2 separate regions of the Homo sapiens genome follow, and region 2 is linked to region 1. The links are contacts of gene promoters, found by promoter capture Hi-C in blood cells and fetal thymus (Javierre and others, 2016). All regions are on one chromosome and are shown on one strand. Each heading gives the region's core, a stretch centred on a gene start or on the middle of the fragment in contact. The rest is flanking DNA. Distances are from core to core; before and after follow the strand shown. Region 1 holds the start of FILIP1L (filamin A interacting protein 1 like). Region 2 overlaps CMSS1 (cms1 ribosomal small subunit homolog).

Region 1 (6,433 bases), core at 2,274-4,773:
ACCTTATATAAGTGGAATCATAACAGTATCTGTCCTTTTGTGCCTAATTTATTTCACTTAGCATGCCTTCATGGTTCATCCATATTGTAGTATGTATCAGAATTTCAATCGTCTTTAAGCCTGAGTAATACTCCATTGTATGTGTATATATATATATATATATATATATGTATATATATATATATATATATATATATACTGCAGTTTATCTATCCATTGATGGACATTTGGGTTGTTTCCACCTTTTGGCTATTGTGATGGTAAAAAAAAAAAGTGTATCTGTTTTACCCAATTTATCCAAAGTATTATCTTTCAACCTGTAATCAATATACACATTATTACTGAGATATTTTACATTAGTTGTTTTCTAATGTCTTTGAGATCTGCTGTGTATTTCATAATTACAGCATATCTCCATTTGAATTAGCCACACTTTATGCTCTTAATAACCATACGTGGTTAGTAGTTAATGTACTGGATAGCACAGTTCTATAGGAGAGTTTGCATTCAAGATTTTAAAAATCATGATTCCTTCTGGATGCCACCATGATGAATAATTCCACCTTATTTTTTTCTCATATAGCCCTAGTGTTTAGAGTTAGGCCTCGGAAGTCAGACTAAACTAAATGCAGATCCCGGTCTCTTACTAATTATCTCAGTGATGTTGGAAAGATTACTTAATCTTTCAAAACCTCAGTTCCGTTTTTTGTAAAGTTGGAAAAAAAGACTATTTCTCCCATAGGGTTTCTGTCTGAATTAAAATCAAATAACATAAATAAAGTGCTCAATGTACTTAATGTAGTGTTGCCAAAGTGTGACATAATAAATAGCAACTATAATAAAAATAATCCACTAGATTATAGGTTCACAAGGGCAAGGGCTACGTCTATCTTTCACAGTGTGCCTGACACATGGCAATTATTTATTTATGTGAATAAATAATTGAACTCTTCCCTCAGTCTTTATAAACTTTTGTTTCCATGACATCTTCACACCTTCACAGAGATTGCATGATGATTTCTAATACCTACCTTGCCATGAAGATACAGATACTTTATGGTATAGAAAGAACATGAAACTCTTATTCTCATCATTTCCTTCTTTTTTATTTAAAAAATTTTGACTACTTCCTTTCCTTTTCCTTGAGAAATCAGGGATGATGGGGCCAAAAAGACTAAGGGCCAAAGGGGCCCTTACCCACAGGGGCAATGAGCAAATACATAAGTATTCTGAGGATAACAGAAACCACCTTATCCTCACTGTTGGGGAAAGGAGTTACAAATATGGAAAGGGTTAAAAGCCAGATTATGTCTATGGTGTTAGATTGGAAATGCAGCTATCAGTGTGATCTCATAGTCTTTAATATAAATAGACAGAGCAACAGATATAGGCGCGCGTGTGTGTTTGTGTTTCCTAGCCTATTACCTGAAAGGGCCTGGAAGCAATGAGCTCACGCAATCCCCAGATCTTGGTTTCTAAATACCATTTTCCATAATGGATGGAGGTCTTCTTGAAGATATGGCTAATTCCAGAGTTGGGCACAGAAAGTACAAGATGCTTATGGAACATTTTCTTGTGCCAGAAGGTAAGAAAGTACTCAGAAAAACATGAGGACCACATCTGAGATCATTTGAGCATTAAAATAAATAATGATATTAGTGATTTATAACTCATTCAATAAAACAGCAATTTATGAGCTCATGTTGATATAAATAAACACAAAAATAAGTGAGGAGAAGGGAATGCTCTTCTTCACTCTAAGAAAGTTTATTTAAGAGCAATATGTTTACCTAGTCTCCAAGTATCTCCCCACAAAATATTTATTAACTGCAAAAGGAAAAACCATAATTTTACAGTAAATCTAACAGATACCACCTTAAGCAAGTGGGTTTGGTTACAAGACTAACTCCGTTTATGTGACTCCTGATATGATTAAGAAGAATACAGCATTGTTTCTGTAGTATTCCTGCCATAAAAATACACAATTTCAATCTCACAATGAGGAAACATCACACAAATCTAAACTAAGGAACATTCTACAAAACGTACTCTTCAAAAATGTGAAGGTCACATATAAAAAAGGAAGATTACAGAACTGTTCAAGATTGAAGGAACGTAGAGACAAGGCAACTAAATGCAACACATAATCGTGGACTAAAAAACCATTTTTTTTCTATAAAGGATATTATTGAGACATTTGGTGAAAAGTTGAATGGGATCTATGGATTAGAAAGTAAAGTTGATTTACTGAATTTAATTGTTATACTGTGGTTATGTAGAAGAGTATACTTACATTTTTAAGATAATCACACTAAAGTATATAAATTAATTCAGAAAAAAATATACACACACCAAAATAAACTCACGGGTGGAAAGGAGGATGAGAGAGAGAGACAGAGAGAGAGAGAGAGAGAGAGAGAGAGAGAGAGAGAGAGAGAGAGAGAGAGACAGAGAGAGAGAGAGAGAAAGAGAAAGAGAGGGAGAATACAACCAGTGGTAAAATGTTAAACATTGGAGAACCTTAGTGAAGAGCATATGGAAATTCTTTATTATTCCTGTATTTTTTCTATAAGTCTGAAATTATTTTGATGTTAAAAATTAAAAATAAAGAGCATGGGCTTTGGAGTAACTCAGATTCAATTTTGAATCCTCAGTCTTATATCTATCATCTGTGAGATCCTAGGAAGTTATTAAATTATTCTGATCTTTGGTTTTCTCATTAGATCACCAGGAGTAGGACTAATTTAAAGGGCTGCTGTGAGGATTAAATTAGATAATGCATGACTTGAGCACTGGGCAGGTGGTAGGCATGTCTGGTAAGTGATCTGATACATAATGGATGCTGAAATATATATTTGTTGAATAAATGAACAAACTCCTCCCTTCTATCCAACCCCTCAATCTGAACAAGTGATCCTACTTAAAGAAAATTAGATGCTTCAAATTTTAGCAATCCTAAGTATGAAGGTTTTCTTAACACTTGAATAATATAAAACAAAATGTCAAATAATAATAATAAACATACCACCATGCATTCCGATGTTGCTCTAGAGTTTCCTCAGCACTTTGCCCTCGTGTCTCCTGTGACACTAAATGGAACAGGCAGGCATTCAAGTTTGAGTCCAACACAGCGTTAATAATAGCGAATGTTTACAGTGCCTTGGGTTATGGGTGTCAAAGAAGGGGTCATGCCCTTGTTACTTAAATCACAAACAAGGCTTACATCAGCTCATGGCTGCAGGGTACAAAATGAGGTGCAATTTAATGTCCATCTGGGCATCTGTTCCTAAGGTGCTAGCACTGCTGTCTGTGGTTCACAATATATCTGGGGTAGCAACACAGCAAAGAATGGGACCCAGGTTGTGCTTGGGAAGTTTCTACTCTCAGCCAAGATGTGCACATGAATTTAAAATTACCTAAGAGGGTGTTTCAGAGTTGCTGGCCAAAGAGTGGTGTCTTCTAATCTGGAGAGCAGCTGCTGGGCACAGGCATGCAAACACACATACACAGACACACACACACACACACAGACGTGCTCACGGAGCCTGTGCCTGCCTCTACTTGTCTGCTCTGCGCAGATGGTTCCTGGCTTTTGGGTCACCTCATCCTGCAGCCCAGTCCAGTTAGAACCTTTCTTCCACAGAGACTGGCAAGCTGTGGGGTAAGAGTTTTGGTAAGGCTGCCTGTCTTCAGAGCATGAAGGACACTGCCCGGAGAGGGAAGAGGGCAATATTTAGTGTTTGGGCCTACTTGTTGTTGGGCTCCCCACTGCCTCTCCTTTGCAGAGCTATCACTGGCCCCTGGTTGCAAACTCTCGGTGGCTTTCAAGCCTACAAAACAAAAACTGAGAGGGTGTCCAAAAAGAGAAGAAGAAAACGTTGTTGTTGGTCCTGGATTCCACTGTTGGATTTTGGTGGGGATGAGAAGAAGGAATTACCAGGTGTGATCAACACCTGCACGGTACCTGCACGGTAAGCTAAGTGTCCCCATCCTTGCTGAGAAGAGGCTTTGGGATGTTTCTGTGTTATTCACCAGCTAGGAGCGGCCAACACCACTCTCCAAAAGTAGGATCTTGTGAATATTATGCAAGGGAACGTAGTATGATTAAGAGCTTATGACAGATGATGACTTTTAGGCTAAAATGACTAAGAGTTGCTTGCAAAATAGAGGAACTATCCTGACAGTAGGTAAGTTTTACTATAGTGATACACATGAAAGAAAACCAAAATGAAACTTTAAATTGTTATCCTGTTAAGAGTAAGATGGATAGTCAAAAATTAAAGAAAAAGTATGTTTGGATAAATGGCTTTCCTTCTTAATAGCTTGATTTTGTAAGCTGATGTGAATGATCAATATACAGTGTCAAAATCATCACAATGTGTTGAAAATGGAGAATTATACTGAATAGGTTAAATTGCAGAGGAGGAATTCTCTTTTCATGGAAAGATTAATGGAAGAAACTAACATTTTCAAATGGCAACTATATTGTATCTTTTTTCTTTTGTTTGTTTACCTTCTGTTGATGTTAAGATTTAATGAATGAGAGCCAGAGAACAGAAGCAGGTTTCTGAGATAAGGTTTTTGGCAGGTCTTGGGAGATACCTATCAAGAACTTGTTCTGTAACACCCCACAGAAGATGACTGGATATCCATGGGCACATCACATCTGGATATAAATGGGAAATGATGCTAGGCTGCTGCCAAATGATATCACAGAAAATTCTGCTCACTGTACTCCTCAATGGGAGGATTATTCAATGTTTAGGGTGGCTGCACAGTTTTGTATATAGGCGCTCCACTGAAGAGAGATATGTGTTCAGTTAAAATGGTTGTGACATATTCAGTTATTCTTTTTTCTTTCCATACCAATTAATGATTACATATCTTTCTTTATTCATTATCTGTTCACATCTCAGGAAGGAATAGAAGAGGTGCAACACATACACTGTTTAACTACACTACCATATTCCACGTGTGTATTAGATATGCATAAAGGAGAACATGGTGTAGTTAATACTAGAGAGAATGCATTGCAATTACAGCAATGTTCCTTTAGCTACAGTTAAACTTGTTTTTCCTGTGATGACATTTTCTGATTTATCAATCTGCTATCTCCCAAAGCCAAATATTCCAAGTAAACATTTCTCTACATTTATCAGTTGACACTATTATGAAACTCTCATTATGCTTAATTAAAAATCAGCATAAATACTGTAAGAGCTGTTTGTTAATAAAAACTTCTAAAGGCAGCAATAATATTCATGGGCTCTTTCCACCTGGGTAATTAAGGTCTACTACTCTGATGAGAATTTTCTCAGTAATTTCCCAAAGCAATGTGGGGTTTGGATTCTTATACTAACCAATACAAAGATACTCTGTAAAAGTTCTGCAGCAAAGAAAAGCATTCATTATTTAAAGAGTGACAATTTATTTTTAGAGTTTACCTTCTATTAAAGTTCATGTGTAATTGTCTTTTTTGCTTAAGCTTTATTTAAGCAATAAATTAGCAATAAATTTAAGTAATAAATTTAGTCAAGACTTGGTCTTAGGTAGTGGCGCTGGCACTGGAAATGAAGATATTTTATTGTGCCATTGAAATGATGGTGCCTTTAATAGAGTGCTATTGTAGGAGACTGCCATTGCAACTTGCCGAGAGTCAGGCAGGTCCAAGGATGCAAAAAACCTAAATGTAATGGGCTCTATCTTCTTTTCTTCTGATTACAGTCCATATTATTCTATGTTCTAACCTAAAGCAAAATTTTCATTACCAATGTAATACCCGCTTCACCTTTCTAATATGTTACATTAAAAAACATTTAAAGAAAAAGTGCTAGTAGCTTTTATTTTCCTTAGAGTAGAACTAGTGCCTACCAGCAATACACAGTAAGTTTGTTTAGTTATATTAGGGGAACACTTTTATAGTAATAGCTTAGTTTGTTTGCTCATTTGTTCATTCATTCATCAACTATTTTAGAATGCCTACTCTGTGCCAGGCCCCGTGCTGGTTATTGGGATTATAACAGTGAATGAGGCAAACATGGTCTCCAGATGCCCTGAGTGTAGGAATCTGCACAGAGAGTCTGATTACTAGTGATTTGAATCTGTGTATTGTGCATGTTGTTCAACATAGATATGGAGACAATTTTAGATACCATCTCAGCATCAAATAATTGAATTAGAAAACACATTTTAGTGCAAATACTTGAGCCTTCTTTGAGGGATGTTGACATTTTGGTGCAAGCTATAGATGTTAGACAAAAACTTTACATACTAATACCATCTGGTTCTTCAGAATTGGGTCAGACAGGAAGTCTAAGACAGAAGAAAATTTGTATTATAGCCTCTTAGAAGTCTAGGGTTCAAATCTGACAGTAGTTCAAGATTTTCTGTTTAATCTGATGGTCAATCACTGGAGCCTACACTGAAAGAGCAG
Region 2 (6,433 bases), core at 2,078-4,577, 290 kb after region 1:
CCAATCTGTCTCGGCCTTTCACAGTATTGAACTATGCATACCCAGGTAGGCTAGAGTTCCAGGTGAAGAAAAAATAAAGCTTACATCTAAAGGAAGTTCAATTATGGCAGCACTTTTCCAAGTGTGGTAGGCCAACCACCTGAGTTGAAGAAATCACTCTGAGAGTTTATTAAAAATGTGAATTGCTGGACATATCCACAAACCAATGAATTACAATGCATAGGAGTAAGATTCAGAAATCTACAATTTAAAGACGATCCCAACATAGATTTTTGAACACTAAATTGGAGACCCAATCTAAATCTTGATAAAGTTACAGGACATCACAGAAATCCATCTTGGGAAGGCTATTATTAATGCTATAGTCACAATATTAGCAGACTTGATTAGTCTGTCACTGACTTCAACTGCAGCTTCTACTGCTCATGGCTTGGATAATATGGTTGTTCACAGAAATGTCCTGATCTCCAAGTTGTTTCCTTCCTTTTTCGTCTTTTAAAACAATTTAGTGTTCCTTTTTCTCATAGCATACTTACTATAAAATATGTGGAGAACACAGAAAATGTAAGAAAAATCAAAAGTACCTGTAAGTCCACTAATCAGGGTTAACAACCAATAGCATGGGTGCATTTTCTTTTAGTATTTTTCTCTTCACATGTAAATAATTAAAGCATGTACACAGTTTTAAATTCTACTTTTAACATATCTAAGTAAACGTTTTCCTGAAGCTTTGGCCTCATTAACAAAGCATGTTGTCATAATTATACTATAATTCATTTAACACATCCTATTCATTTAACTGTCCATTTTTCATCATTATAAACAATGCTAAAATCAAATATCCTTGACTGCCTCTCTACATCCTAGAAAAGATTCATAAGGCTCTTGATACATACTACCAAGCTGTTCCACTAATCATCATTGGAGCTGCCCATCTCACTCATACTGTGAAAACTTTTAAAAGTCTGAAGGCCCAAGTCAAATGCCATATTCTTCATGAAGCACTCTTAAAGACAATCTCATTCGAAATTAACCTTTCTCTGGCAATCTCATGGCTCTTTGAGATTAATTTGGGACACTACTCTTGTATATGTCCTACTACACCGTGATTGCCAAATATCTATTCATCTCTGTATCTACCACTATCTCTATCAAGAACTGTGCACACAGCACACATTCAACACACACCAGATTACTTTACTGACATTCTTTTCTTCAACCTGACGATCTTTGATCTGATACATCCCCAGAAACTGGTGCTTTCAAAGCCAAATCCTCCAAACTGACTCCATGTCCTAAACAATTTCTACTTCTCCACCAACTGTACCATTAATTACCTTTTGTTCTCTTGTTTAATTCAAGATCAAGGAGGTATGCAAGCAGAGAATCCCAGCACGGATCCCTAAACCGAAATCTACAGGCATCACCAAGATTTCCACTAAAGCCCCCACAGTGCCTATGGATAAGCCTATTTACCAAAATGGCTGTGGGAAGCTACACATCGTGAGAACTGTCACCTCCAACACCTTCCTCCACGTGGGAGGGAGAAGGTAACTCATACCAATGCACTGCCTGGATACATTCATCTACAGAAATATGTGGAAAGCTAAAATTACCACTATGAAAGGCCAAAGGACCATCTCTCCAGGAAATGGTGAAGCAGCTTTGTGGACCTGATGAAGATCATCCCCCAAAAAGCAGCACGTCTACAATTATTTTACTTCTATATGTGTATATGCACACACAAACACTCGCAGGCCTAGACCCACACCCAAATCTACCCATTTCCTCATCCGACATATAATCTAACCCAAAGATGAACTATCTAGAATCAGCCTGGGATAGGACTGAATTCACTAGAACAGTTCAAGAGTTTTCTGGTGAAAACAGAAGTAATTCTTCATTCTACAGAACTTTGCTGATTAATCATATTTTGCTAAGAAAAGGTGATAGCAAAAATTCCTAATCTGAGTCAAGAAAATCAGATTATTTCCATCAAGATGACAGGACAATTAAAATCACACTTTAAGGTCTAAAACTATGATTTCTTTATGACCAGGAGGGAAAAAGCAAAGTGATAATTCTTAAAGGAGGAAAAGCATAACAAAAGTGAATAACAGCCGAATATATCCTTTGTGCAGAATACCTGACAATCACTGGTGTAGTAAGCATACCTGACCACTGGCACTTAGTCTCAGTAACATTGAGATATTTTAGGGAGACATGAATCAATATTCCAGGTGCTTGAAAAAATACAGAATTTATCATCTCACAGGACATTGTTTATTCATATCTCTTCTCTGAATAAACACTATCGAAAATCAGTTGATTCAACAAAAGCTTGGGGTTAGGAGACTCAAATTCCAATCCTAGATTTTCATTCATGTGACAACGAGCTTTGCATTCATCAATCTAAGCCTTGAGTTTCCACATGTAAAACAGGAAAGTGAAATAATTCCTCAGGTCCCTTCCAGTTCTGATAACCTATGAATATGCCCAACTATTAATACAAAATGTTGAATTCAAACAGTCATCTATAAGGGTAGACACAGTCCCCTGGCAGAAAGCTAAAGCAATTCTTTACATCACACTGAAAACTCTCTCATTGAATTGAGAGAAAGGTGTGCCTGTAATTCAGTGTGGACAGAGTAATACAGGACATTTTAAGACAAGGCATGTTTGACACAAAAGGCAGTTCAAAAAACATTTCAAAAAGCTTCAATCGAGGGGGGAAAAAAATCAATGGAACGACACTAAACATTTTTTGTGATCCTTCACTAAAAACTGGAAGCATGACCCTGGAAGAAATCCTCATGGTTAAGGACTGCTTTAGCCAGCTGCCCTGGGTTGGAGCCAGCAGAGCAAGAGTAAAGGAACTCCCATTCCCCATACTTATCTAACTAAGTCCACCTCATTGCACTAATGCCACTGTACAAACACCCCCAGGCCCCTGCAATTTCAAGGAGGAGAAGGAGCTAGAGGCCTGGGCAGCATTGAAAGGGATGATGGGCAGCATTGAGAGGGATGATGGGCAGCATTGAGAGGGATGATAGGCAGCATTGAGAGGGATGATGGGCAGCAGTCCCAGCAGGCAAGTGGCAGAGGGCAGTAGGGGGAGGTCAAGTGAATTAAAAGCCTGAAATGGAAAAGTCGAAGTGAAAGGAAAGCAGGAAGAGAATAGTAGAAGGGGATGGACTACAAAAGAAGGTGAAGACTGGGCATGGTGGCTCACGCCAGTAACCCCAGCACTTTGGGAGGCTGAGGTGAGAGGATTTCTTGAGGCCAGGAGCTCAAGACCAGTCTGGGCAACTTGGCAAGACCTTGTCTCTCCGAAAAGAAAAAAAAAAAAAAAAGCCAGGTGTGGTGGTGCACACCTGTAGTCCTAGCTAATTAGGAGGAAGAGGCAAGAGGACTGTTTGAGCCCAGAAGTCCGAGGCTGCAGTGAGCATGATCACACCACTGCACTCCAGACTGACTGACAGAGCAAGACCTTGTTTGTGGGGAAAAAAAAAAAAAAGGGTGCAGTGATGAAGCTCTAACATCAAAAAAAAAAAAATACACGTATGTACAGAGTGCTTAGTATTGTGCCTCACATAGAGCAGGTATTTGATAAATCTAGAGTGAATAGAGAATGAGTAAATGAAGAAGAGAAGGCCATTCAGTCAAGACATTTTCTCACTTGAGAAAACATGCTAAGAGATAGCAATGGTATGACAGGGTTAGGAAAAGTAGTTATGCCCAGGTGACATTCAACATTGGTAATTATGCTAATAGAAAAAAAACCCATTGGAATCCCTTAGTGAAAACCAAACAGGTTGAAAAGAAGCATAAAACAGGAAAAACAACATGCACTAACAATAGTCCCAGAAAAACAAAATACCTTGGGAAAAATTTTACTCTGAAATGAAGCACAAAATACGTTGTATGTTGAAGCTTTCAAAATTGTTTTCTCCCATGTCAGGAGACTTCCTAAAGTACATTTTTATCCAAGCTAGCATAAGTTTAAGAGGAAGCACAAAAAGAGGGACAAGATAGTATACAAAGTACTAAAAAATTTAGGTAGAAGCCAGGCACGGTGGCTCACGCCTGTAATCCCAGCACTTTGGGAGTCCGAGGCGGTGGATCACCTGAGGTTGGGAGTTCGAGACCAGCTTCACCAACGTGGAGAAACCTCGTCTCTACTAAAAATGCAAAATTAGCCGGGCATGGTGGCGCATGCCTGTAATCCCAGCTACTCCGGAGGCTGAGGCAGAAGAATCTGCTTGAACCTGGGAGGCGGAGGTTGCAGTGAGCCGAGATTGCGCCATTGCACTCCAGCCTGGGCAGTAAGAGCAAAACTCCGTCTCAAATTAAAAAAAGAAAAAATTTGCGTAGAAAAATGTTGACACTTCTATGGGAACCAGCAGAAACTCATCTTTAAATGGTAATGCAGTTCTAATCCCATTAAGACAAAAGTCTTCAAAGTAAAGTTACATTTGCCGGGTGCGGTGACTCACACCTGTAATCCCAGCACTTTGGGAGGCCAAGGCGGGCAGATCACATGAGGCCAGGAGTTTGAGGCCAGTCTGGTCAACATGGCGAAATTCCATCTCTATTAAAAACACAAAAATTAGCTGGGCTTGGTGGTGCATGGCTGTAATCCCAGCTACTCAGGAGGCTGAGGCACGAGAATCGCTTGAGTCTGGGAGGCAGAGGGTGCAGTAGGCCAAGATCATGCCACTGCACTATAGCCTTGGTGACAGAGTGAGACTCTGTCTCAAAATAATAACAATAAATAAAGTTATATTTTAACAAAAGGATTGACAACCAAAAACCATGCTTGTTTCAAGCAATATGTATTAATAATATAATAAAAATGCAAATACAACTATAAAGTGAGAATACTATTTGGAGTTCAAAACAGTAATGTCTGACCTATATGTAACACAACTGAAATATAAAGCATCTTTCCTCCTGGGCATGTTGTTTCCGCAGAAGTGTGGCCTCTGAAGAAAAATGAAAATAAAAGAAGCTGACCTAATAATTCTAGAGTGATTTCACCTGATGAACTGTTTCAAAGTAAGCAGATAAAAATCCAAGTGAGTGAAAACAAATCCAATTTGTAACAAAAATGTTAAAAACCTGATACTTTTAAGCTGAAGTCTTTTCCTGGTCCTTCATTTATTTACCTTCAAGGTTTCTGAACTAATCTTGAGATATTTTAGAATCAAATATCTGATTTTAACAGATATGTGACTGGTCTAATACATAGCTGATAACTACTAAGTAACGGAGTAACTAAGGTAAAACACAATTCTCTCTGGATTTGTTTCAAATTTCTTCTCCTGAAGACACGTGACATACAATTCACGATGTGACTTTGAGTTTGGGGCAGCGTTTGCAAACTGCGGTTCACAGGCCAAATTCAACCCACTGTGAAAGTTGAAAAACAATCAAAATAAGACTATTTTGTGACGTGAAAATTACATAAAATTCAAATATTGTTGTCCATAAATAAAATTTTATTGGAACACAGCCATACTCATTCGTTTACACATTTATTTTCTATGACTGCTTTTACACTGCAACAGCAGTTATGACGGTGATGACTGGACCCACACAACCTAAAATATTTATTATCTGGATTTATATGAAAAAAGTTTGCTGACCTCTGGTCTAGTGTGAACTAGAACAAGGAACTCAGAAATAGGAATTTAAGAGCTTGATCAACTACTTTTTATAAGCAATATTAGCCATTTAAAAATCAATTAAGAATTCTATGAAAGCTGATAAAAATGGGGAAACTATATTTCAAGCTGTGATATATTTAGTAAAATGTATAATTCTATGAATGCATCTGAAGTGTTCCACTAAATAACATCAGATTAACAACAGATAAAAGACTTGTGCTGGGCCGGGCTCCGTGGCTCACACCTGTAAATCCTAGCACTTTGGGAGGCGGAGGCAGGCGGATCATGAGGACAGGAGATCAAGACCATCCTGCCTAACGTGGTGAAACCCCCCTCTACTAAAAATACAAAAAATTAGCCAGGCATGGTGGCATGCACCTGTAGTCCCAGCTACTTAGGAGGCTGAGGCAGGAGAATCGCTTCAACTCAGGAGGCGGAGGTTGCAGTGTGCCAAGATTGCGCCACTGCACTCCAGCCTGGGGGACAAGAGCAAAACTCTGTCTCAAAAAAAAAAAAAAAAAAAGAAAAAGAAAAAAAGAAAAAAAGATTTGTGCCACAAAATGATATATTATTATTGAATCTGAGGGAGGAAATGGAAGTTATGTATAGGCCTTCCACATTTATGAGTTGTATTTTTCAAGAGATTCATGGACATTTAGCAAAATTATAGCAGGAACTACCTGACATGCAATTTAGGGAAATATGCATAAATTTCCACCTTTAAATGTTCGTAATTGTTGTCAAGAACCACTCATTTAATCATC

The links. The method cuts DNA at HindIII sites, captures the fragments that hold promoters and counts their contacts. A CHiCAGO score of 5 or more calls a contact.
Region 2: a fragment that was not itself captured here is called in contact with the fragment with the promoter of FILIP1L in region 1 in 3 of 17 cell types (erythroblasts, M0 macrophages and M2 macrophages); the score reaches 6.2 in erythroblasts.

What each region holds. Positions count from the first base shown.
Region 1 is chr3:100,111,591-100,118,023 of GRCh38, reverse strand. FILIP1L (filamin A interacting protein 1 like) reads left to right here and starts at 3,523. Exons shown (of 6, transcript NM_001387850.1): 1 at 3,523-3,971. All of the region lies in intron 1 of CMSS1 (cms1 ribosomal small subunit homolog), which reads right to left. The HindIII fragment of the contact is 6,115 bases long and covers 1-5,487 here.
Region 2 is chr3:99,825,535-99,831,967 of GRCh38, reverse strand. The region is part of intron 1 of CMSS1 (cms1 ribosomal small subunit homolog); the gene reads right to left. FILIP1L (filamin A interacting protein 1 like) reads left to right here. Exons shown (of 6, transcript NM_001387850.1): 6 at 1,363-3,157. The coding sequence ends at 1,554. The region is part of intron 1 of LOC105374010 (a long non-coding RNA gene); the gene reads right to left. Among named protein-coding and RNA genes, the nearest start is that of HP09053, 4.9 kb to the right of the region's middle. The HindIII fragment of the contact is 1,217 bases long and covers 2,719-3,935 here.